7 separate regions of the Homo sapiens genome follow, and all the other regions are linked to region 6. The links are contacts of gene promoters, found by promoter capture Hi-C in blood cells and fetal thymus (Javierre and others, 2016). All regions are on one chromosome and are shown on one strand. The core of a region is centred on a gene start or on the middle of the fragment in contact, and the rest is flanking DNA. Distances in the headings are between cores, read along the strand shown. Region 1 has its middle 200 kb from the start of FREM1. Region 2 overlaps TTC39B (tetratricopeptide repeat domain 39B). Region 3 overlaps LOC124902123 (a long non-coding RNA gene). Region 4 overlaps TTC39B (tetratricopeptide repeat domain 39B). Region 5 overlaps TTC39B (tetratricopeptide repeat domain 39B). Region 6 holds the start of CCDC171 (coiled-coil domain containing 171). Region 7 overlaps TTC39B (tetratricopeptide repeat domain 39B).

Evidence for each region. Contacts are between HindIII fragments. The CHiCAGO score rates a contact against its expected background, and 5 or more counts as called.
Region 1: a contact is called between a fragment that was not itself captured here and the fragment with the promoter of CCDC171 in region 6, in 2 of 17 cell types (M2 macrophages and fetal thymus). The highest score is 5.1, in M2 macrophages.
Region 2: a contact is called between a fragment that was not itself captured here and the fragment with the promoter of CCDC171 in region 6, in 6 of 17 cell types (non-activated CD4 T cells, activated CD4 T cells, naive CD8 T cells and 3 more). The highest score is 9.0, in non-activated CD4 T cells.
Region 3: a contact is called between a fragment that was not itself captured here and the fragment with the promoter of CCDC171 in region 6, in 4 of 17 cell types (total CD4 T cells, M2 macrophages, non-activated CD4 T cells and 1 more). The highest score is 8.5, in total CD4 T cells.
Region 4: a fragment that was not itself captured here is called in contact with the fragment with the promoter of CCDC171 in region 6 in 8 of 17 cell types (total B cells, activated CD4 T cells, total CD4 T cells and 5 more); the score reaches 11.4 in total B cells.
Region 5: a fragment that was not itself captured here is called in contact with the fragment with the promoter of CCDC171 in region 6 in 1 of 17 cell types (activated CD4 T cells); the score reaches 5.6 in activated CD4 T cells.
Region 7: a fragment that was not itself captured here is called in contact with the fragment with the promoter of CCDC171 in region 6 in 12 of 17 cell types (activated CD4 T cells, total CD4 T cells, total CD8 T cells and 9 more); the score reaches 12.2 in activated CD4 T cells.

Annotation. Positions count from the first base shown.
Region 1 is chr9:15,104,081-15,107,525 of GRCh38, forward strand. No RefSeq gene overlaps it. Among named protein-coding and RNA genes, the nearest start is that of FREM1, 200 kb to the left of the region's middle. The HindIII fragment of the contact is 2,848 bases long and covers 218-3,065 here.
Region 2 is chr9:15,193,259-15,196,864 of GRCh38, forward strand. The region is part of intron 8 of TTC39B (tetratricopeptide repeat domain 39B); the gene reads right to left. Among named protein-coding and RNA genes, the nearest start is that of TTC39B, 110 kb to the right of the region's middle. The HindIII fragment of the contact is 5,285 bases long and covers 1-3,606 here.
Region 3 is chr9:15,151,256-15,154,875 of GRCh38, forward strand. All of the region lies in intron 2 of LOC124902123 (a long non-coding RNA gene), which reads left to right. Among named protein-coding and RNA genes, the nearest start is that of TTC39B, 150 kb to the right of the region's middle. The HindIII fragment of the contact is 985 bases long and covers 1,812-2,796 here.
Region 4 is chr9:15,228,085-15,231,574 of GRCh38, forward strand. All of the region lies in intron 2 of TTC39B (tetratricopeptide repeat domain 39B), which reads right to left. Among named protein-coding and RNA genes, the nearest start is that of TTC39B, 77 kb to the right of the region's middle. The HindIII fragment of the contact is 3,048 bases long and covers 486-3,490 here.
Region 5 is chr9:15,169,165-15,172,800 of GRCh38, forward strand. TTC39B (tetratricopeptide repeat domain 39B) reads right to left here. Exons shown (of 20, transcript NM_152574.3): 20 at 1-2,945. The coding sequence ends at 2,855. Among named protein-coding and RNA genes, the nearest start is that of TTC39B, 140 kb to the right of the region's middle. The HindIII fragment of the contact is 2,268 bases long and covers 872-3,139 here.
Region 6 is chr9:15,551,051-15,554,558 of GRCh38, forward strand. It overlaps CCDC171 (coiled-coil domain containing 171), which reads left to right and starts at 1,993. Exons shown (of 26, transcript NM_173550.4): 1 at 1,993-2,252. RefSeq lists enhancers at 1,590-2,235, 2,131-2,300 and silencers at 1,691-1,750, 1,761-1,850. The HindIII fragment of the contact is 6,396 bases long and covers 662-3,508 here.
Region 7 is chr9:15,210,115-15,213,643 of GRCh38, forward strand. It overlaps TTC39B (tetratricopeptide repeat domain 39B), which reads right to left. Exons shown (of 20, transcript NM_152574.3): 5 at 1,152-1,283; 6 at 1-50. Among named protein-coding and RNA genes, the nearest start is that of TTC39B, 95 kb to the right of the region's middle. The HindIII fragment of the contact is 2,730 bases long and covers 719-3,448 here.

The DNA of each region.
Region 1 (3,445 bases), core at 392-2,891, 450 kb before region 6:
TATTTCCTTTTAGGAGACATTCATTTCCTCCAATAAGCTGCTGACTAAAGAGGTGCTCTTCAAATCTCCCTTAGCACAGATGTCACCTTGATCTTGTGATCACCTGGATAGAGCTATAGGCAGCCTGATACATTCTCAGATCCACTGAAGCAGATCCTTCAGAATCCCCACTTCCTGGATATCAAATGAATCAGAGTTCTTTGCAGGTTTTTCTAGAAGCTTCCCCTATGAACTGCTAGAAAAATTGCCTACTTCTCCAGCTGTTCTCATTCTCCCTGGATTGAAAATTCTTTTCTACCTACTTGGTTCCACTCTCTAGGAGCCAAAGCCTCTTCACTATAGATTCCATGGAGAAACACTGATGCTCAATATTTTTTATCTTAATTCATGTAGTAGACATAGAGGCACTGTTTTTTAGCTGTAGTCAATATGACTTGATAATCACCTAGTGTTTTGATTCCTAAATGTCTGCAGAAGAAATAGGTGTCAGAGTGATGTTAGCAAGATGATGGACTAGGAAGCTACAGGCCCTTCTTTCCCCTACAGAGACACCAAGTTAACAACAGTATATGGACCAGAATGCCCCTGTGAGAACTCCAGAGACCAGGTGAGATGCTATAGCACCCAGGCCATTGTAAAATGAAGAAAGGATTCCAGAAAAGGGGTAGAAAGCCTTATGGCAGTTGGTGCACCAGTTCATGCTTCTGCACATTCACAGTATAGTATGGAGAAATTGGGAGGAAATCTTCAAACTGAGGGTCCTTCCTCAGAACAGAAACAAAAGAGCAGACTTTGCACTCAAAGTTCTGGCATGTAGGGGGGCTGTCTGAGAGTCTGGTTTTGCTTGACTTAGAGCAGAGGCAGGATCAGACGCTGCTGAAAACAAAGTCTAGCAGCACATTAGATGTGCAGTTCTACAGGCAGATGCCAGGGGGAGCAAGAGATCAGAAAAGGTTTGAAAGGTGCTTGAACAGATAAGTAGACTGACTGGTGACGGGTTCCACCTGAACAAATCCAGTATGCAGACTGTTAGAGGTGGGTGCTTTTTCAAATGCCCAAATCCCAGCCAAAAAAGAAAAAAATTTACAAGATGTACAAAGAAACACGGAAACATAACCCAATCAAAGGAGCAAACTAAAACTACATAAACCAACCCTAAAGAAATGCAGATGTATGAGTTATTTGACAAACAATTTAAAATAACTGTCATAAAGATACTCAATAAACTAAAAGAGAACAGATAGACAACTAAATGAAATCAGAAAAACAACATATGAACAAAATGTGAATATCAAACAGAGATAGAAGCTATACGAAGAACAAAACAACAATTCAGCAGTTGTATGTCAATAAATTGGATAACCTAAAAGAAATGGATAAATTCCTAGAAACACACACCCTACCTAGACTGAATCATGAAGACATAGAAAATCTGAAGAGATCAGAAACTTGTAAATTATTGAAACAGTAATCAAAAATCTCTCCACAAAGAAAAGCCCAGGACCAGATGACTTCACTGGAGAACTCTACCAAACATTTAAAGAAGAATTCAAGTCAATTTCAAGAGAATTCACATCAATTCTGAAACTCTTCCAAAAAATTAAAGAGGAACACTTCTAAGCTCATTCTATTAGGCTCTGATACCAAAACCAGACAAAGAAATTACAAGAAAAGAAAACTACAAACCAGTATCCCTAATAAATATTGATGTAAAAATCCTCAAGAAAATACTAGCAAACTGTTCAACAGCACATTAAAAGGATTATATGCCATGACCAAGTGGGACTTATTCATGAAAAGCAAGGAGAGTTTTGCATACAAAATTTAATCAATGTAATATACCACAATAACAGAATGGAAGACAAAAATGACATCATCATCTCAATTGATAGAGAAAAAACATTTGACAAGATTCAACACCCTTTCATGATAAAAATCATTCAATAAACCTGGACAGGAAGGAAACTACCTCAACATAAGAAAAGCCATTTATGAGGCCAGGCACAGTGGCTCATGCCTCTAATCCCAATGCTTTGAGAAGCCGAGGCGTGTGGATCACTTGAGGTCAGGAGTTCGAGACCAGCCTGGCCAACATGGTGAAACCCATCTCTACTAAAAATACAAAATTAGCAGGCGTGGTGGTGCACACCTATAGTCCCAGCTACTCAGGGGGCTGAAGCAGGAGAATCACTTGAACCTGGGAGGCAGAGGTTGCAGAGAGCTGAGATCCTGCCACCGTACTCCAGCCTGGTCAACAAAGCAAGACTCTGTCTCAAAAAAATAAAATAATAATAAAAGCCACTTATGAAAAGCCTACAGCTAACATTACACTCAATGGTGAAAGACTGAAAGCTCTTCTTCTAAGATAAGGAAAAAGGCTTAATAACTGCTCTCCCCACTCCTATTCAACATAGTATTGGAAGTCATAGCCAGAACAATTAAACAAGAACAGAACAATTAGGAAAGAAAAAGAAATACAGACGGGTGCAGTGGCTCACGCCTGTAATCCTAGCACTTAGGGAGGCCGAGGCAGGCGGATCACGAGGTCAGGAGTTGGAGACCAGCCTGACCAACATGGTGAAACCCCGTCTCTACTAAAAATACAAAAATTAGCCAGGCGTGGTGGCATATGTCTGTAATCCCAGCTACTCAGGAGGCTGAGGCAGGAGAATTGCTTGAACCCAGGAGGCAGAGGTTGCAGTGAACCGAGATCATGCTATAGTACTCCAGGCTGGGTGACAGAGCGAGACTCTGTCTCAAAAAAAAAAATAGATAAATAAAGAAATACAAGAAATCCAAATTGGAAAGGTGTTAAAATTATCACTGTTCACAGATGACACGATTTTATATGTAAAAAACTCTAAAGATTTCGCACCAAAAGAAACCTTGTTAGAATTAATAAATTCAGTATAAATTGCAGGATACAAAATTGACACAAAAAAACCCATTGTATTTCTATATACTAACAATGGACAATCTGAAAAGGAAATTAAGAAAACGATTCCATTTATAATAATATCAAAAAGAATAAAATGCTTGGGAATAACCTAACCAAGGAAGTGAGAAGCTTATACATTGAAAACTAGAAAATATCACTATTACTAAATGAAATTAAAGTTGACACAAATAAATGGAAAGGCTCCCAGTGTTTGGGGATTGGAAGATTTAATATTGTTAAGATGGACATACTACCCAAAAGCAATCTACAGATTCAAAGCAATTCTTATCAAAAAATACAACAGCATTTTTTGTAGCAATAAAAAAATTCATCTTAAATCATCTTAAAATCAATATGGAATCTCAGGGGATCCCAAAAAGCCAACACAATTTTGAAAAAGGAGGAGATATTTGGAGGACTCATACTTTTGATTTCAAAACATACTACAAAGCTACAGTAATCAAAACAGTGTGATACTGGCATAAAGACAGACAATAGACCAAAAGA
Region 2 (3,606 bases), core at 746-3,245, 360 kb before region 6:
ACTTTACTTTCTATGTATTTCTCTCTTGCCTGTTCACATCATCTTCAAAAGGCAAATATTTAACCAAAGAAATACAAATTAAAACAATGACAAAAATATAAAAATTGATAATACCTGGGAATTGCTTATTAAATTGGCAAATATATTTTTAATAATAAGGAATAATGAGATATCATGAATCACTTGGTGTGATGCAATTATAAAATGTGCAACTACACTTGTGATCCAGTCTAGCCAAATATTTTTAATCTGAATCTAGCAAGCCTATAGACCTAACTTCCAGTTTACAAAAAATGTAAGGGTTTAGAGAGTCAATTCAGATGCCTACAAGCATCCCCTGCTGTCATTTCCCCTGGGTCATTTATTTTTTATTATGGTGCATTTTGCCAAGATAAAATGATGAATGTTTATTTGGTCAGCTCAATCAATTTCTTCTGATTTCTGATTTTATGCCATAGTTAAAAGGCCTTTGAAACTGACATCATGTACCTAATGATATCATTTCTAAGGTATTTTTGCCATAGAGTCATAATCTGAATTTAATCATGAAGAAACATTAGAAAAGTCCATATTGAAAGATGTTTTACTAAATAATTGGCCAGTTTATTCTTTTAAAATGTCAACATCATTAAAGACAAAGACTGAGGAACTATTCCGAATGAAAAGAGACTAAGGAGACATGACAGCTAACCTCGATATCCAGGATCCCGGGTTGGATCCTGAGCCAGAAAAAGGGCATTGATGAGACAACTGGAGAAATGTGAGTAAAGGCCATGGAGTAAATATGAATACTGTATCCATGTCAGTTTCCTCATTTTAATAATTGTACTGTGCTTCTGCAAAATATTAATATTTGTAAATCTGAGTGACGATTTACAATCTTCCATACAAGTGATGGAAATTTTTTGTAATAATTTTCAAATTATTTCAAAGTGAAAAAATAAAAAACAAAAAAGTTTAAAGCCTTTATATTTAAGAATTATAAAAGTACTTTCTTATGTTTCCTGCTAGAATTCTTTTTAAATCTTTTAATATTAAACCTATATGGACTTTTTTCGTCTTAATGATTTTTCTATAAAATGAACAATTTTCCCAAAAACATTTACTAAAGTACCTATCTTTCTTCACTGTTTTGAAAGGGCCTATCTATATAAAGGAATTTAGTATATTTTGAATTCCCAGGTAAGTATGTGCGTGTGTGTGTAAGTCCATGTGTGTGCACACACACACATGCTGTCTCTTTCAAAAAACCCTGTGGTTCATTTCACTGATATGTAAAGGCATACCTTGTTTTACTGCAATTTGTGGATACTGCATTTTTTACAAATTGAAGATTTGTGGCAACTCTGTGTTGAGCAAGTCTATCGATGCCATTTTTCCAACAATATGTGCTCACTTTGTGTTTCAGGGTCACATTTCAGTAATTCTCATAAAATTTCCAAACTTTTTAGTTATTACTGTATCTGTTAATGGTGACCTGTGATGGGAGATCTTAAATGTTACTATTACAGTAATTGTTTCAGGGTGCCCTGAACCACACCCATATAAGAGCGAAAGTTATCAATAAATGTTGTGTGTGTTCTGACTGCTCTACTGATAGGCTGTTCCTCCATCTCTCTCCTCCTCAGGCCTCCCTATTCCCTCAGACAAAACAAAATTGAAATTAGGCCAGTTGGTAACTCTACAGTGGCCTCTCAGTGTTCAAGCGAAAGGAAGATTCGCACCTCTCATTTGAAATCAAAAACTAGAAATAATTAAGCGTAGTGAGGAAGGCATGTCAAAAGCCAAGACAGGCTGGAAGCTAGGCCTCTTGTGCCAAACAGTTAGTCAACTTGTAAGTGCAAAAGAAAAGTTCTTGAAGAAAATTAAAAGTGCTACTTCAGTGAATGCACAAATGATAAGAAAACAAAACAGCCCTGTTGCTGATATGGAGAAAGCTGTAGTGGTCTGGATAGAACAAACCACCCACAACACTCCCTTAAGCCAAAGCCTAATCCAGAACAAGACCCTAACTCTTAAACTCTATAAAGGCTGAGAGAGGTGAGGAAGCTGAAGAAAAAAATGTTGGAAGCTAACAGAGGTTGTTTCATGAATTTAAGGAAAGACACCATCTCTATAACAAAAAAGTGCAGCCGGGCACGGTGGCTCACACCTGTAATCTTAGCACTTTGGGTGGCCAAGGTGGGCGGATCATGAGGTCAGGAGTTTGAGACCAGCCTGGCCAAGCATGGTGAAACCTTGCCTCTACTAAAAATACAAAAATTAGCCAGGCACGGTGGCGCACACCTGTAGCCTCAGCTACTCGGGAGGCTGAGGCAGGAGAATCACTTGAACCTGGGAGACGCAGGTTGCAGTGAGCTGAGATCGTGCCACTGCACTCCAGCCTGGGTGACAAAGGGAGACTCCATCTCCAAAAAAAAAAAAAAAAAAAAAAAGTGCTAAGTGAAGCTGCAAGTGCTTATGTAGAAGCTGTAGCAAGTTATCCAGAATATCTAGCTAAGATCACTGACGAAGGTGGCTGCACTAAACAACAAATTTTCAATGTAGACAAAATGGCCTTCTATTGGAAGAAGATGCTATCTAGAACTTTCATATCTAGAGAGGAGAAGTCAACGCCTGGCTTCAAAACTTCAAAGGTCAGGCTGACTCTTGTTAGGGACTAATGGAACTGGTGACTTTAAATGGAAGCCAATGTTCACTTACCATTCCAAATATCCTAAGGCCCTTAACAATTGTCCTAAATCTACTCTGCCAGTGCTCTATAATTAAAACAACAAAGCCTGGATGATAGCACATCTATTCACAGCATGGTTTACTAAATATTTTCAGCCTACTGTTGAGATCCACTGCTCAGGGAAAAAAACATTTATTTCAAAGTATTATTGCTCACTGAAAATGCACCTAGTCACCTAAGAGTTCTGAAAGAGATGTATGCAAGGATTATATTGTTTTCATGCCTACTAACACAACATCCATTCTGCAGCCCATGGATCAAGAAGTAATTTTGACCTTCAAGTCTTATTATTTAAGAAGTACATTTTATAAGGCTATTGCTGCCATAGTGATTCCTCTAATGGATCCAGGGAAAGGAAACAGAAAACCTTCTGGAAAGGATTCATCATTCTACCTATCATAGAGAACATTCGTGATTCATGGAAGGAAGTCAAAATGTCCACATTAACAGGAGTTTGGAAGAAGTTGATTTCAACCCTCATGGATCATTCTGAGGGGTTCAAGACTTCAGTGGAGAAAGTAACTACAGAGGTGTTAGAAACAGAAAGAGAACTAGAATTAGAAGTGGAGCCTGAAGATGAGACTGACTGCTGCCATCTCATGATGACACTTTAATGGATGAGGAGTTGCCTCTTATGGATGAGCAAGAAAGCAGTTTCTTGAGATGAAATCTATTCCCGGTAAAGATGCCACAAACATTGTTGAAATGACAACAAAGGATTTGGAATATTAAATAAACTTAGCTGATAAAGCAGCAGCAAGATTTGAGAGCATGGATCTAACTCTGAAAGAAGTTCTCCTGTGGGTAAAGTGCCATCAAGTGGTATTGCATGCTATAGAAAAATCTTTTATGAAAGGAAAAGTCAATAGGTA
Region 3 (3,620 bases), core at 1,054-3,553, 400 kb before region 6:
GCCCAAGAACATTCATGGATGCCACACCTGGAACCTACTTGACCAACACTTCTAATGATTTTGTAAGCACCTAATTTCCTGTATTAAATTCTTTTCTTCTTAAAGTACCTAGAGTGATTTCTGTTGAACACTGACTAATATTCAAATAGCAGCACCAACACTCTGCCATGAGAGATGCAGCATGAGTTTGTGTCCTCAGCAATCTCTATCATCTTCCACTCCGTCTATTCACCTTGCTCTGTGAAACCATTCTGCCCAGCCACTGTCCTGGTGAGGCAACTGCCTCCACTTGCAACCTTCCCCTCTCTATGCTAAGGCCGAGTCCTGTGTTAAACCCATAAGAATCTTTTAGATTTCTTTTCTGTCTATTCTCTGTGGCCCTCCCAGAAGGCAACACAACCTGAGGTCCCCAGCAGAGGCAAGTCCACGAAAGGACTTCTGACACCAGCAATCCACGGGTTCATTCAACACATACTGAAGGTCTATGTTTTGCCAAGGCTGTTTGCAAGAGACCACAAAATTTCTGAAAGTCCCTGCATCAGCAAATGATTGATATAAAGGTAATCCTGCAGGGTACCAAAAGGTAGCCAAATTGTCCTTTCCAATCAACTTTCCATTGACATTTGAAAAAGGAAAAGAGGGTTGGGCACAGTGGCTCACGCCTGTAATCCCAGCACTTTGGGAGGCCATGGTGAGCAGATCATGAAGTTAGGAGTTCGAGACCAGCCTGGCCAACATGGCAAAACTCCGTCTTTACTAGGGATACAAAAATTAGCTCGGCATGGTGGCGGGCACCTGTAATCCCAGCTACTCGGGAGGTTGAGGCAGGAGAATCACTTGAACCCAGGAGGCGGAGGTTGCTCCAGCCTGGGCAACAAGAGCAAGACTCCATCTCAAAAAAAAAAAAGGAAAAGAGGACGTCAGTGTTTTGCCCCTGCTGCAGCATGCCAAGTTGTCTGGAGTACAGCAGAAAGCTTGGCAAAGTGGATTGAAGCACTTGCCTGAGCCTGCTGCTCCTGCAGCTCCAAAACCAAATGGGAGATTTTCAGTGGGGCAGACCCCTCTCATGGACGAACTTCACACAGGTGGAAGACAAGGTGGGAAAGTGGGAAAGCGGGAAAGCTCATTCAATCTTGAAACAATCAGAATATTTCTGCACAAGGCAAAGAGACTTGTCCTTTGTGTGCTGTGTGTGCATACAAGAACACACACACATATATACACTGCCTTGGTAGTCTTGGGGGAAAGCAATCTCTCGTGGTGCCTTGGAACTTCAAGCAAATGCTACCTGGTGCTGTGGATTTTGCCCTTTGGCCAACAGACTGTCTTCTGAATTGGTTCAAGTCTACGTAGGGTTTAGTATACAAAAAAAAAACAAAGATATTTTATTGGTTAAAGTGCAGTGAGTGGAATTTCATTTAATTATTAGTGAAACTGGTTTTTTTAGTACTTTTTTTGTATTGGTCTGCTCCAATAAAGCCTAGCCACTCTACATAAGTGCTCTGACTACCCCCAGTCAGCCTCACTCAGAAGGAGCCTTTCTCTGGCCTTCCCCTGGGGCATCTGGAAACAACAGACTCTGGTCCACGCTATTATATGATCTGCCCAAAGTCCCACCAGCAGCATTGTTATCCCTCCTGAGCAGATGGGGCTGACAGTGCCCACCTCTGAGGTTTGCAGCGTGACAGCCACCCTCCCCAGACAGATCTCCACAATGCAGTTCTTGGCCTTGAAGCATGAGTGCCGGGACCTTAATTCCCTCCTTTTTCCCTTTCCCCACTCAGTCAAAGGGTGGAGGTAAATGGCTATAAAGCTTGTTTTCTTGCACTTATATCTAATAAGCTGGGTTCTCTGAATTAGGCCTACTTAGAAAAGAAGTTTTAGAACTTAGACACCTATGCCCACTGGAAATGCACAGAAAATGTTGCATGAGGGCCTTTCCCCAAACTAAAGAATGGAATGTCCTATTGGCAGACTTTCTACTCTTTTCTTAATATTTCATTTTTGGTATCTGTGTTTCTTCCATTAATTGCCATTTTCATCCTTTTAATTTTGTATAATTGCCTACCATTTAAAACCCTTCCTATTTCAGTAGGTGCCCGGTCATTGATACTCAACATTATTTGAACAATTTGGTATAACAAAACAAATAAAATATACCATAGAGAAGAAAAAAGTGTACATTTGCTTGGAATAACAACAAAAATGACATCCATTGCAATCATCAATCGTCCACATTACACACGAACTGAGGTCTGAACCCAGAGACTTCAGAATGGGATGAAAGGCCTAGGAGGTTCCCAGCTTTCCTTCTATCTATCATTCTCAGCCAGTGAAGACTGAAAGCACGACATACCTTCCTGAGTTTGCCAAGGAAAAGTCCAACAGAATCTCCTTTGGTCATTTGAAATCCTGTTTTAAGGCTAAACAAACGTCCAAGCCACAAACCAGGATAAAGAAGCACAACCTCAATGACTGTCCCAGGTGACAGCTTGGAAGCCCAACCTGAGTTTAATCTCCAGCTCAAATGTGAATTACCTGTGTTGTTTTATTGCAACACATCCAACAAAGATAGGGAACAACGCAGCCTTAGCCTCATCTCCAGGTCCTTCCCAAAAAGGGGCTACTGTCAGAAGAGCTGAAAGTGGCTGGAAAGCTAGAGACTGTTAGCAGCATCCATAAGAGAGTCAACAAAAGGCTGTAACAAGAGGCCAGTTGGTGGCTGGCTGGCTGCTAGAGGCCACGTGGAGGAAGAAATTTGCTGGCCTTGGAATAGGAGTCTTTTCCTTTGGACTAAGCTTTAAAGAGTCTTCCTTTGGAGAGCAGAAGATTGCTCAAATAAAGAAAGAAACCAGCTTTATTAAAAAAAAAAAAAAACAGGTGAGAAAGGAACAAGATGAAATCAAATCTATTATGCTTCCTAAGATTTTGGAAGACTTCCAGGGACCAATGTTAGGGAAAATGAAAATTGAGCATCAAATGTTAATGGAAAAATCACTATCGGGGATGTGGAAAAATAAAGTTAATCTGGAAGGAAAAATGGAACAAATGTTGAATGTGTGGGCTTCCCAGTGGCTTGTATAAGAGCCACGAAAATGGATTTTAAGTATAGAAGATTCTGTTGACCTGGTATTGACTTGTTGCTCCATGACCAAATGGGGGACACAGGGTTTTAGCATCAGTTATTGAGATTTTGTGCTCCCTCAGTCCCCTCATTCGCCCCAACAATATCGCCCAAGAATGATTATCCAGCCAAGGATTATTTTGATAATCAAAATCATGGACACTTACTATTTTTTGTGTGTTTGTGTAAACTAAGTCTAGGGACACAGAGCTCATCTAGGAAGATGAGGAGGAGGGCATCCTAAAGGTACATGGTAGTGCTCCAATCTGCAATACCGTCCCTCCCCGCACCCTCACGCCATCTCACTTTCTGCTTAGACAGCAATAACAGGTGCCTCTCCACCTCGTCCTCCCCATTCCCCGAAAAAAGATTTGTAGAATTTAAGATGTGAAAAGCTGGGAACCACTGCACTAAACCACACTGTATCCAGTACTCCATACACAGATTGCCAAATGGCTGAAGAACAAGGTCTAGCCCTTAAAACGAATGAAGCTGG
Region 4 (3,490 bases), core at 760-3,259, 320 kb before region 6:
CCAATGATTTGACATGCCATATATAACACACTAGATATAAACATAAATTTGGTGTGCCAGGTAAATATTATATGTTTCAAAGTGCTAAAATAATTGGGACTGGGCACGCTGGCTCATGCCTGTAATCCCAGCACTTTGGGAGGCTGAGGCAGGCAGATCACTTGAGGTCAGGAGTTTGAGACCAGCCTGGCCAGCATGGTGAAACCCCGTCTCTACTGAAAATACAAAAATTAGCCAGGCGTGGTGGTGGGTGCCTGTAATCCGAGCTACTCAGGAGGCTGAGACAGGAGAATTGCTTGAACCCGGGAGGCGGAGGTTGCAGTGAGCCAAGATTGCACCACTGCATTCCAGCCTGGGTGACAAGAGTGACACTCCATCTCAAAAAATAAAAACAGTAATAATGAATTGGGAGGCCTTCAGCAAAGATGGTTCCTATACGAGCAAATGGAAACTCAACTCACCGTAAACAGTAAAAACAAAACTTAAGCTTAGCCAATCAGAAACCGCCAACTCACCTCTAACTAAGAACTTCCCACTTGTTCCAGTCAAGTATTTTATTTGTCTTGCTTCTTTAAATACTTCATAAGTTTCCCCCTCCCACTCCTTAAGTAGAACACTGAACTGCTTGTGTTCTAATGATATTCAATTCAGGAATCACTTATGCTCAAACAAACTAGTTAAAATATTACTGTGCCTAAATTAATCTGTTAATAAAAGCTAAAATTATTGTATCTTTACCTGGCACAACAGACTTGACTTTAGCAGAATATAATAATTATTAACAAAATAATGTTACATTTTATTCATCTTTTCTGAGGTATAAAAGATTAGATTCAGATTCTTCAAGTTCTTTATGTTTGTATACACATGTACACGAATTCATGGAAATTCTACAGTATTTCTAGATTTATGTTAATATCACAATAAGCATATCATGCCACAAACTAATTTTTTTATTAAACAGGATTTTTTTAGATATAGACATAACCCATTTATTGAAAGTACTGTCTAGTGTTTTAAGAATGCATTTTCTCATTTCATTAATAAGAAATGCTTCAAATACATAAAGTAGAGAAAATACTATTGCAAACACACAAATATAATCTAGAATCCATTTTTGTGTACAGTCTGAGCTACATTTAATTCTTTCCTGCATGGATAAGCAAGAAATAACTCATCTACTTGTTATAAGAGCTTGGAAACAAGGCAAAAGGAAGACTGCATGTCCTCTCAAGGTCACCTTGGAGCACTGTCTGACAGGCCCACCCAAGGAACATTTAATTCCCTAGGGAGTATATATCTTGTTTGGCTTGCTATTTACTATTAAAACCTATACTCTGTAAAATTATGTTAACTTGTAGATTTTTTAATCTGGTAGATATGCAAATAATTTCTGTGTGGTAAGATTATGGTTTTATTACCTTGCCGGAGGTTAACCAGTGTTGTGCATAACAAACCTTATTTCAACACTTTTTCTTTCCTCAGTTCTCCAAATGCTGTTACCAGGTTTACCATCTTGCTGATTTCCTCACTGACATGCGTTGATTCCATAATTATGATACTTTGACATACTGGATTATTCTGCAATCTCTTACACACAGCAATTTTCCATACGTGCTCAGGTCTGTTTCTGGGCATTCTTTTGTTCCATCACATATTTGCCTCTCTCTGCACTAGTCACACCGTTTTTATTATCATGGCTTTCCGAGACCTGTAAGCCAACTGGGGCAAGTTCTCTACTTTATTAAACACTCTTTTTGTGGGGTTGTTATTATTACACCTACATTCTTGTTTATGAATTTCAGAGTTAGTCATTATAATATTACAAGCAAGTCCTGCTGGAGTTTTGACTGGGAATTCATTACATTATTAGGAAATCTACAGAGAATTGTTGTCTTTATAACATTGCATCTTCACATCTTTACACATTTATTCAGGTCTTCTCTTATTTCCTTCAATAAAGGCTTTTAATATCTGAACACTGCACTGATATGCATGTACCCTTGCAAAAGAGCCATGCTAAATCTTTATACTGGAGGCTACGAAAAATAACACACCAAACTTCAATTACAGCTATTAGTACATTGGAATATATGCCCTTATTTTGCCCTATTTTAACGGCTCTAACTTTTAAGTTTTTAAACAGCTTTATTCAGACCTAATTCACAGACCATAAAATTCACCCAATTAATGTTTACAATCAATGGTTTTTAGTATATTCACAGACTATCACCACAATCTAATTTTATAATATTTTGTCACCAAAATGTATCCATATATTAGCAGTCACTCCTCATTCTCCACTCCACCTCCTCTAGTCCTAAACAACCACTAATCTACTTTTTGTGTCTATAGATTTGCCTATTCTGGACATTTCATATCAATGGAATCATAAAAAGTATGGTCTTTATGCTTGGCTTTTTCAGTTAGCATGTTTTCAAGATTCATTCATGTGGTATCATGTAACAGTACTTTATTCCTTTTTATTACCTAATATTATTCCATTGTATAGCTATACCACATTTTGTTAGTCATTTGTTGATAATATATGAATAATTTGCATTTTGTGGCCATTACGAATAATGCTGTTATGAACATTCATGTACAAGTTCTTGGCCAAGGCATGGTGGCTCACTCCTGTAATCCCAGCAGGACTTTGGGAGGCCGAGGAGGGCAGATCACTTGAGGTCAGGAGTTCAAGACCAGCCTGGCCAACATGGCAAAACTCCATCTCTACTAAAAATACAAAAATTAGCCAGGCATGGTGGTGCACACCCGTAATTCCAGCTACTCGGGAGGCTGAGGCAGGAGAATTGCTTGAACCCGGGAGGCGGAGGTTGCAGTGAGCCAAGATTGTGCCACTGCACTCCAGCCTGGGTGACAGAGTGAGACTCCATCTCAGAAAAAAAAAAAAACAAACAAGTTATTGTGTGGACATGTATTTTCATTTCTCTTAATTATATATCTAGCATTGCTATGGAATGCTAAATTATGGTATGTGGAATTGCTACATTATGTGGTAACTTTATGTTTGACATTTTGAAGAACTACTAGACTGTTTTCCAAAGTGGCTGTGTGATTTTTCCGATTTTTTTAATTTTTATTTTTTGTAGAAATGGTGCCTTGCCATCTTGCCCAGGCTGGTCTTGAACTCCTAGGCTCAAGCAATCCTCCTACCCCAGCCTCCCAGAGTGCTTGGATTACCAGCATGAGCCACCATGCCCGGCCAGCTATGTGATTTTATATTCCCACCAATAATGTACTAGATTCCCAATTTCTTAACAGCTTGGCCAATACTTGTTTTTGTCCATGAGATATGGTGGTATCTCACTGTAGTTTTTGGTGTGCATTTGCTTAATGACTAATAATGTTGAGAATCTTTTTTAAGTACTTAATGGCCAATTGTATGTCTTCTTTGGAGTAATGTCTATTCAGATTATTTTCCCATTTTTAATTGAGTTACTTATCTTTTTATTATTCATTTGAATAC
Region 5 (3,636 bases), core at 756-3,255, 380 kb before region 6:
ATCTGGAATTCAGCTTCCTACAGCCTTTATCCACTTGTCTCATTTCTGCCCTCTGAGGATAAAGACAGGATCAATGGACTTAATTTTCCTATATAACTTGGAAACTTCTTGTATCAGGGAGCATAGAAAACATTAACATATATGTCCAGATAAGAGCTGATACAGTTCACCTTTCATTCCTTGTCAGGGGGAAATCATGCCTTCCTTGTCACCATTCCTACAAAGCACAAAGTTACTTAAATTTATACAGCACCAATCAGAACCCTGCCTCTCCATTAAGGAAAAAAAAAAGGCAATTATGCCAGGAACTACATGAATTGCACTGTCAGACACAATGGCAACCCAACCCCATCATAAATGCCCCTCAAAAAACTAGATAAAACTGTCACTTCAGTATTCATTCTTCACAGAACACCCTAATGACTCCAAAATGCAATATTAGCTGATGCCCAAGAAGTTGGTGCCACTACAATATCTTGAACATAGCAGGAAACATAAATATTTGTAGCATTTTGATATTACAGTACTAAAAGATCCACTGGATATACTGTCCATAGTATCAGGTAACTGCATAAAGAATAGGAAACAAAAATAAAACAAAATATAAATAACAAAAAAGATTTTTAAATGGAGATGAATTTCTTTTATATTTGTTTAGTAATGCAGAGTTAAAATAAAAATGGCCACTCTAAGCTTAAAACTGTTTCATTTTATCCCCAAAAGAGAATTTGTTACTGACTTGCAGCACTGACTTGCAGCTTCTCACAGTAACAATGTAAGAATATATGCTCAGTATACCCACAGTCACAATGTGAGTGTGCGCTTTCAAAAATAATGTTACCAAAGCTCTTCTAAGAGCTTTTTTCCAAAAAGCTTTTTTTGGAAAACTTTTTTCCAAAGCTATACACAAATAATTTTTAATGTATTTTCCACTACTAATTATAATGACAGTTAATTTTATTTTCTATTTTGTCTGTACCTAAAGTTGTATTACTAATAACACATTGATATCTACCGCCATTGATATCTATCTTTCATTGGATATACATCCTCAGTGTTGGTCAAGAATCAGTACCTTGAAGAAAACAAGCCACACACTGCTTGATACAGGTCCATGTGGCAGGGAACGGCAGGAGCAGGTTCATATAACCTGGGTAGCCTACTGTCAACATCAAACACATGAATACACAGTAAGGTATTTGAATTTCTACACTTCTTTCATTTTACAACACAAACCACAGTATCAGCCAATACTTTTGTGTTGATACTGTAATCCAGACATAAAAAACCATAATTATTATAATAATTCATACTTTTGTATAGCCTTTTACAGTTTACAAAAAGCTATCATATGTTTTATCTAATTGAGCCCTCACAAGTACCAAATACCACACCGCTATCCATAGTGGGGCAACTGAACCCCTGAAAAGCTGAGCTACGTACTCCGTGTCATGGAACTATTAACCCACAGAGATGAACTCGTGACTCCCAATATGTGGCTCCTTCTGTTAAACTGCAGAGGCTTCTATGACAAGTTATTCTTCAAAATGGAAATAGAAATAAGGCCCAGATTCATCAACTCATAAATTGTCTTTTCTCACTCTGGATGCCACAACACATACATGTGGGGAGTTGGGGGCAATGATGATGATTGAAAAATAAAACACTCCAAGTGGGAATGGTTTGCATTCGACATTTTAAAGTCATTTGTTGAAAATAAATACCTAATACATAGACTCACAGTTATAAAACTGAAAAAGACCTTGAAAGTCATCTGTTCTTTAATCTTGATTTCACAGAAGAAAATGTGGTGACACACAGGGCACAGTGGACTCCCTAAAGGTCTCCTCACTAATCGCTAATGGGTAGCAGAACCAGGACCATATGGAGTGTCAAGCTCTCTTCTGCTCTATGCCCTGATTCTGTTTCCCAACTAAAGGACTAAGCAAGGTCCAGATTATCTACAAGGAGACATCACAGTGCTAGAGAGATTAGAAAACTAGGTCTTACCAACATCTTAAGTGTAAAAATTATTGATATTTTACATATCATTTAAAGCAGCAGGAAATTTACTTCCTAGAAGAAAAATAATCCATGTATGTATTTTAGGCTCTCATTGCTAAGGTTAAGAAAAATTCCTAAAATATGACACTTCCTTCCCTTTAGATACACAGGGGTTTTGAATTTTGTTATTATAATAGACTTAAGTACATTCAAAATCAGTCTCTCCAAAACGTCACCACCTTTAATCAAATGAAGAGTAAAAAACCACTAACTGAATACTGCATCATCCTTTATAGAGAAAGGTCTCTTCAACCCATGAAGTACATTATATCGATCCGTGTTCATGTTCTCAGACTGTCTTTTTCAGAAGTCTTCTGAAGGTCACTGTTAAGCTATTTTAAATGCAATGATATTTATTTATCTTCTGAAATTTAAATACAGGCAACAAAATATCTCTGAAGTTTAACTACCCAACAAATCCAAAATTGGCTCAACTTGTAAGCTATTTGCTAAACAATATTAATTTTCACATTAAAAAAATAAATAATCTAATTAGACTATTGCATCTGCAAGTCTTTCAAAAGACTTCTTCGCCCCCTAATTCAAATAATATGAAATTCTTTTGGGGGAGGCAAAATATAAGAATTTTCTAGATAATATAGAATGCCATTCCATAGGAAAAAAAATTATGTAGACCAACAGTAAATCTCTCAGATGATAGAAAATATTGACCAAAAAAACTGTTTTTTTGTCTCTTATTCACAAGATCATTTTTCCACTTTAATATAAGGTTGAATCTATAGCAGATGCCGATGCTAATTGAGGAAAAATTCCATCCTTCAAGTTCTGATCAATCTGAGGAAGGTTTTCTCCAGAGGTGAAGAGCTGCCTGAATTCTGAAGTGTAGTCTGGACTCCAGGGAGTAATCTTTGTAGTTGTTCCTGAAGACAATAACAATAAAATTGTACAGTCAAAATTTCCTTATATACCAGGTACCACCACTCTCCCATTCCTCTCTCTGATCTACTTACTTACTTTCAAACTCTAATATACATAACCGTAGATCTTAGTAAAATGCAGATTCTGGTTCTGTTGGGGGGTTTTGGGGGGAACTGCAATAATCTGCATTTCTAGAAGCTTCCTGGTGGTCATCTAAAGGTCATACTTTGAGTAGCAAGGTTCTGCTTAATTACCAAATCATTCACAAGCATAGCAAGAAGTTGTGAGAAGGGCTGTACAAATTTTGTGAACTAGTCCTAAATAATTAGACTTCCTTTTTTAAATTGGAAAATTTTAAGGTAGGTGCATATAAACATGGTTAGCATGATCACATGATCGATCACTCAAGAAACTCAAATGAAACAACTGCAACAAAGGCAGCAGAATTACTTAATGACGTCAAAATTACTTATTCCAATTCTCACATGTAAATATCAATGGTTTGGCCAATAATTACATAAGAATTAGGCCAATGTCTTTAAAGGGGGCCATAGAAATCCAAAGATTATTTAAAACCTGCCTAAGAGCATTTATGTTGACCTCCCTTTACCAGAATTGTTAAGAATCAGAAAAATGGAATACTTTTACATACTGCCTTGGCCCATGGGTGAGCTATAACTGCTTTCTTTACAG
Region 6 (3,508 bases), core at 743-3,242:
GGTACATAGTCTGTATTCTGTAAATGCTGAATGAACAAATAAATGAAAACGGGTCTTCACATCACATCCATTTTTCATTTCAAAAACATACAATATAGTACATAGCATTTATTCTTGCGATACAATATTCACTTTTGTGACTTTGTTAAAACACAAATAATTTTTTTTTTTTTTTTTTTGAGACGGAGTCGCGCTCTGTCGCCCAGGCTGGAGTGCAGTGACGCAATCTCGGCTCACTGCAAGCTCCACCACCCGGGTTCACGCCATTCTCCTGCCTCAGCCTCCCGAGTAGCTGGGACTACAGGCGCCCGCCACCACGCCCAGCTAATTTTTTTTGTATTTTTAGTAGAGACAGGGTTTCACCGTGTCAGCCAGGATGGTCTCGGTCCCCTGACCTCATGATCCGCCCACCTCGGCCTCCCAAAGTGCTGGGATTACAGACGTGAGCCACCGCGCCCGGCCAACACAAATGAAATTTTAAGTAGTTCCAGCTACTCAGGAGGCTGAGGCAGGAGGATGGCTTGAGTCCTGAAGGTCTAGGCTGCAGCGAGGCGTGATTGTGCCGCTGTACTCTAGCCTGGGCAACAGAGAACAACCCTGTTTCAAAAAAAAAAAAAAAAAAAAGAAAAAGAAAAAAATAAAATTTAAAAATATTTTTTAAAGCTTGTAACATAAAAGTTCTAATCTCATTAGTCAGTTGTAATTTTCCATTTCATTTCTAAACTTTAGAGTGGGCTATTTTTTCCCTTTATTTCCTCTGGAGCAATTGTCCTCTTTATGGCTCTAGTAAAAAGAATCAGGGACAGGCCTCCGTTTTAGATGTAAATGACTAAAATCAAACCAATTAAGGTTTCAGTGCTACAAGAATCAAGGAGGTTTTAATCTCAATTTGTGTTTGCATTTATGACCGTTGGCTCTCCCATGGGAGAGAGAAAAGACGGCCCCTACACCTGGTTTCAGGTTGATTACAATCAACAAGGACCCAGTTTAGTATAGAAGGCTCGTTTTGCATTAAACACCTTTTTGTGCAGAGGAGGTGGTGGTGGTGAAGATAAAAATCTTTGACCAAATCCTGTCAATTTGCATTGTTCTCTGGAAGAATAGGCTTTCAAAAGTTAAGGAACAAAAGAGGAGTTGGTTTTCCAGTCTCCCTTAGGCGGCAGCAGATTGTGAAGCAGCCACCGGGAGGAACCAAAGTATAAATTATCAATAAGAGGACGGTGTGTGTGTGTGTGTGTGTGTGTGTGTGTGTGTGTGTGTGTGTGTCAGAGAAAAGTGAGAGAAGCGAGGAAAGAGATAGGGAACACACATGCTAAGGCTCCGAGGCGTTTTCCACGATGTGCCTGGTTACGTAATGTTGATAATGAAACGCACTGCAAGCAGCATCAATGCATTCTTCCGACCCTGCTCACCACTCCCAGCTGGGATACAATGGGGACGGGAAGAGGGGACAGGATGCCCTGTGCAGGCAGAGAGCTGTCCAGACAGAGGTAAACCAGGCAGTTGGGCAGAACCCGAGCCCAGAGAATTTCTCCCCAGGCCCCGGGACCAGCCCACCGTTGCTGTGGCTCTAAAGATGGGCAGAAGAACCAGTTTCAAAAAGCAGGATCTGGGATCCGACCTCTTAGGTTTTTATTCAGCAGGCAGGGAAAAGGGGTTAGAAGCTGGAAATCTGCATTTCCACTCGGCTCTGGCGACTGAGACAGGAACGCGGACACCTCACGCTGAAAAGCCACAGCAGCGCGTGGGCAGGGCGCACCCCCGCGCGGGGACGCGGAGCTCCTGGAGCGAGAGCGCGTGCGGTCGCGAGCCCGCCGCTCCCCAGCAACGGCGCATGCGCCCGTTCGTCCCTCAGCGAAGGCGCGCTGCTTGGCGGGCGGGCTCTTCCAATCCGAGCCAGCGTTCTCGGAGTACGTATCCAGGAGCTGCAAGCTGAGGGCTGCGGGAGGCGGGAGGAAAAAGTGGGGCCGGGCCTGAGTTGGGCTGACCTGTGAAAGTCTGGGAAGGTCTGCGAGAGAAGCGGAGTGTTTTCAGCTCCGGAAGTGGCAGTTGTAAACTTCACCTCCCGGGGGCTCTTCCCCTTCTGTACCCCTTTGCTGTTTGTCCCCCTCCTCCCGGGTCCTGGAGTCCGTCGTGTTCCAACAGTTTTTGCTCTTATTCCCGTGGGCTGCCTGGGCCTCCTTTCACCCGTGAGACTTGGAGCGGCCCCTGGGGTCTTGGGTGTGCAGCACGGATCACGCGAGACCCCTGAGGTAACCGCACGGTGTGGGGGCTTCGAGGCGGACGACTTGGGAGGGAGGTGTTGAGAGGGTTGTAGGGGCCCCTGAGTGAGTTTGGGGCGGCCCTGGGGCTGTTGGCGTAGGCTTTGGGGCACGCCTCCAGCTCCCTGGGCTGGGTCTCCCCGCCCACCTGGAGGAAGATCTCCGTGGAGCATCCTAGCCAGAGATCGCTGAGGCTGTACCAGAGCGCCGGATGGGGACCAGAGGGGAGGCAGAGGACCGGGATTTGGAGCTTCTTAGGGTTACTGCTGCGGAGCGCTTTCGTTCCCGAGAATCAGTAAGCCCCTCGAGGATAGGGACCACGTCTTTCAGCCCGCTCTCCCCTTTTTAAATGCCGGCCACACACTAGACACTCTACAGATGTTTGATAAACGGGAATGAGTTGTGCTAGACTGTCACCTGCAGCTTCTACCTACCCTCCAGGACTCTGAGAGACTTAGAATCTGAGTCAGCTGTGCGTTTTCCCGAAGCTGTAAATTTTCTGCAGAAATGGAGCCGACTTTTTGAATTTTTTTATTCCATTATGATATTGATCCTAAGAAAATACATATTTCATGTATACATTTTAGGTAAATGAGATAAATACGTCTTTATTTTGTTTATTAGAGTTGGTGTCCAGCTCTTTTGAATACATGACATACCGATGTTTTATGGTTTTCATAATATTGGAGAAAAGAACATACGATTTTGTCACTTTTTTTTTTTTTTGAGATGGAGTCTTGCTCTGTCACCCAGGCTGGAGTGCAGTGGCGCGATCTCGGCTCACTGCAAGCTCCGCCTCCCGGGTTCACGCCATTCTCCTGTCTCAGCCTCCCCAGCAGCCGGGACAACCGGCGCACGCCGCCACGCCCGGCTAATTTTTTTGTATTTTTAGTGGAGACGGGGTTTCACTGTGTTAGCCAGGATGGTCTCGATCTCCTGACATCGTGATCCGCCCGCCTCGGCCTCCCAAAGTGCTGGGATTACAGGCGTGAGCCACTGCGCCCGGCATGTCACTTATTTTATTTAACTGTTAGTTCCTACTCTCAACAAAACAGTGGTAGAGCAGAAGATGAACATGGTTTTTCATAAAATGCAGAGGAAACAAAGGCAGTGCAACCTGCTAAGAGGAAAGATGAAGGGCATAGTCTTAGTTTGTAGCTTTCTGTGTTAGTCTTGGGGCTCAGCCATTTATGAGCTGCGTCCCCACAGGCAAACCACCTAACCTTCCTAGGCGTTAGGTTCTTTAT
Region 7 (3,529 bases), core at 834-3,333, 340 kb before region 6:
TAGAAAGAAGACTTGAGAAAGATTCTACAACTGTGTATTTTTTCCTGTATCTACATTGAATAAATAAAAAGGGAGATAGAAAATAGAAAAAAAAAATCAGGCTGAGCTCATTTTCATTTGACGTTCATTTCAGTCACTATCACACCAAAGAGTCAAAAAGCTGAAACTCTAAACCCTGAAGTCTATAGGACACAGATCATCCTTTTCCAACACTCTACATGCAGCACTGGCTAGCCATTTGTGGGAACTCAGTCTGTGCTACTGAACACCACGTGGGGAAACCCACACACACCAATGAAAACTAACCTCCAAAGTACCTTCCCTTATCCCTATAACTAAAATCAGTATTTGTGGTAAAATTCTCCACAGGTTAAAAATGAAGTTAAAGTGCAATATTTGGAAGCTCTCTTCATTTGAGGAGCTTACAACACAATTACATCAGGATGTAATTTCACCCATGTTAACCTTCTGATCATGAACCTTCTGCCCTAGTCCTATGGGGGGCACATCAAGCAATTGACAGCAACAGGGGTCATTTCCTCCCATCCATCTGATCAGGGTGCTGCAGCCAGCCATTCCTGGATTCTTGAATATTCCTAAATGTCCACAAACCAAGCATCTTCCATACTGTGAAACACCTATCATTTTTTAAAAGATATCAAAATAACTTACCCCTTGAAAAAAATTTTGATAGGGTCTTCCTATACACACAAAGTAAAGCTTAAAATAAAACTAAAAATCTATCTCATTTTCACCAAACAAAAGTGTTCAAAAACAGGTCCTTCTTAAACAAATAAAACATTCCCTCATGAATTTGCATCTCCCACTTAAAACAAGAATGTTCCTTGTGTGGCTTGGTTTGGCATGCAGTACCTAATGTCATCTACATTGAGAGATGCTTGCTGCTAATCCCACTGAAATCCCCCCGAAATCCCCCCCAGATCTCTGTAGCTCAGACCCCAGGCTATCAAAAAGAAAAGTGGAATATGTAGATGCCAAATGGGAATCCTTCAGCTTCGAGGCTGAATTTCTTTTCTGTAACTGTGGCCAATTTCAAACACAGAGCTTTTGGTCAGGCAAATGACATTATTTTTGTCACACAGGCATAAAAGTTTGCAGTCACATCTTAAGTATTTAATGACTCGTCATACTTTTGGCAGGTTTGTAAAGCGTCCTTCATGGCAGAAATGCCGTTCTGGATGTCCTGTTGCTCGAAGGTCAGGACAGCCTGCAACACCACAATGGTACTGTAGCCCAAGGCATGGTACATACTCTCCTTAGCCCTGGGAAGAACACAGGGAATTCAGACATTTTAATTCAATGGAAATACTGATCATAAGAAATCCTAGTAAATGCATGTCCTGACTTGCACAGTAACCTTTATTCCTTCACCATAATCACTGAAATTATATGGGTGGTGAAAAGTAACCTCTTAAAAACTCAAGTACCAAGGACTTTCCAATGTAAACCCACACAGGCAGAACAAAATGTTCCAGGTTGAAGGGGACAATATGCATTTCCCTATTTCAACACAAGAGGGCAGCCTGCAGGCAGATTGCAAGCAAACTGTTTTCTGTTGAAAAAGGGGCAGCACACGGCCTTTGGCTCTGAAATAAGTGCTAAAATAAAGGCCGCTGGAAATGTATTTTTTGACAGAGAGATTCTGATATATTTTTTCAAAAATAAAGGCTTATATAAAATAATCCCTCTCCTCGCCAGCCAAAGGCCAAGAGCAAACAAGATTTTGGAATAAGTTAGGCTGGTCACAAGAGCCATGACCAAAGTAGTTGTCAGACCTTGTATCTAGTCTAATCCCATTATCTGAAGTTCCTGATTAAAGTTCTTGATATTTCAAATCATCAAGTTACAGTGAGAACTGCTTCAGGATTCTTAAGGATGTTAACTAGAACTAGTCCTAATAGATGGCAGACATCCAGATTCTCGGGCTATGAGAACATCATTTATTTTCTCAAAACTTCTTAAGCTGTATTAATTATTTATAAGGTTTAAAATGGTAATGCATGGTTTTGTTTTTAATTTAAATATTAATGCATAACAGCCTGCTGCCATGCAAAACAAATGCAAGCCACATTATTCTTTGCCTCCATGGAAATAGTCTAAACATCCTTTGGTAATTTGCAGCTTGTCCTGAACATTGAGGGCACTATCTGTTCAAAAGAACCACAAGGAATCAGAGCAGCCCAAAGTTAATCATTAATTGTGGTTTCAAACCTCACATTTTTAACTGAAAGCTCTTTCAAGAAGCAAAAAAAAAAAAAAAAATGATTCAAGTGAGGGAAAAGTATTTTTATTTATTTAATTTTTTTTGAGACAGAGCTTCGCTCTTGTTGCCCAGGCTGAAGTACAATGGCACAATCTCGGCTCACCACAACCTCCGCCTCCCGGGTTCAAGTGATTCTCCTGCCTCGGCTTCCCGAGTAGCTGGGATTACAGGCATGCACCACCATGCCTGGCTAATTTTTTGTATTTTTAGTAGAGACAGGGTTTCTCCCTGTTGGTCAGGCTGGTCTCGAACTCCCGACCTCAGGTGATCCATCTGCCTCGGCCTCCCAAAGTGCTGGGATTACAGGCGTGAGCCATTTAAACACTGAAACATGTACAAAAATCGGAGACTAACCTGACTGAACACAACACTAAATCACCTATTTTCATTCCATGTTATGACCAGCTGTGTGTCAGTGGCAGAGAAAGACTCGTTTGAATAAAAATCAAAGGAGATAATGGATACAAAAATACAGTTAAATGGAAGCAATAACTTCTAGTATTTAATAATAGAGAAATTATAATTAACAATAATTTATCATTATTTCAAAATAGCTAGAAGAGAATAATTATAAATGTTCCTGACACTAAGAACAGATAAATGTTTGAGGTGATGGATAACCCAGTTAACCTGATCGATCACTGAACACTGTATACAGGTAAGGAATTATCACATGTACTCCAAAAATAGGTACAACTATGGCTCATCAATAAAAGCATTTAAAAACCCAAAGAAGACAGGCAAGTAGGCTGAGAAAAGAGAAGGAGAGACTGAGAGAGGGAAAGACAAGCAGACAAAAGGAGGTAGAGACAGGAGACAAAGAAGTCTGAGGGACAGAGGAGGACAGAAGGAAAAAAGCAGAGGACAGGCAAGGTGGAGATTGTGAGGCAAATATTGAAGACAACACTGGAAAATTTCCTTAGACTACAGGGCTTCATTATCGATTTCATCATTTGTTCTTAACCTGTGAAACAATAGCTGACCCATCTTGATTACAGCTATTCTAAATCTTAACACAATTACCATAGCAGCTCCTCAGCAGGTCAATCAATCTCTAAGATTCACATGACCAGAGTCCAGTCACCCTGGTAACCACTCAAAGTAAGGAACGAGATTGCCGACTTTTATGCCCAAGTAATCTTGGAAATTATCATATGAGGTCTAAGCTTCATCTAAGCAAGTGTTTGAGGGCACAATGTACGATTATTCTTGTCAAGACAAAGGCCGAGTAAACAGGCAAGCACA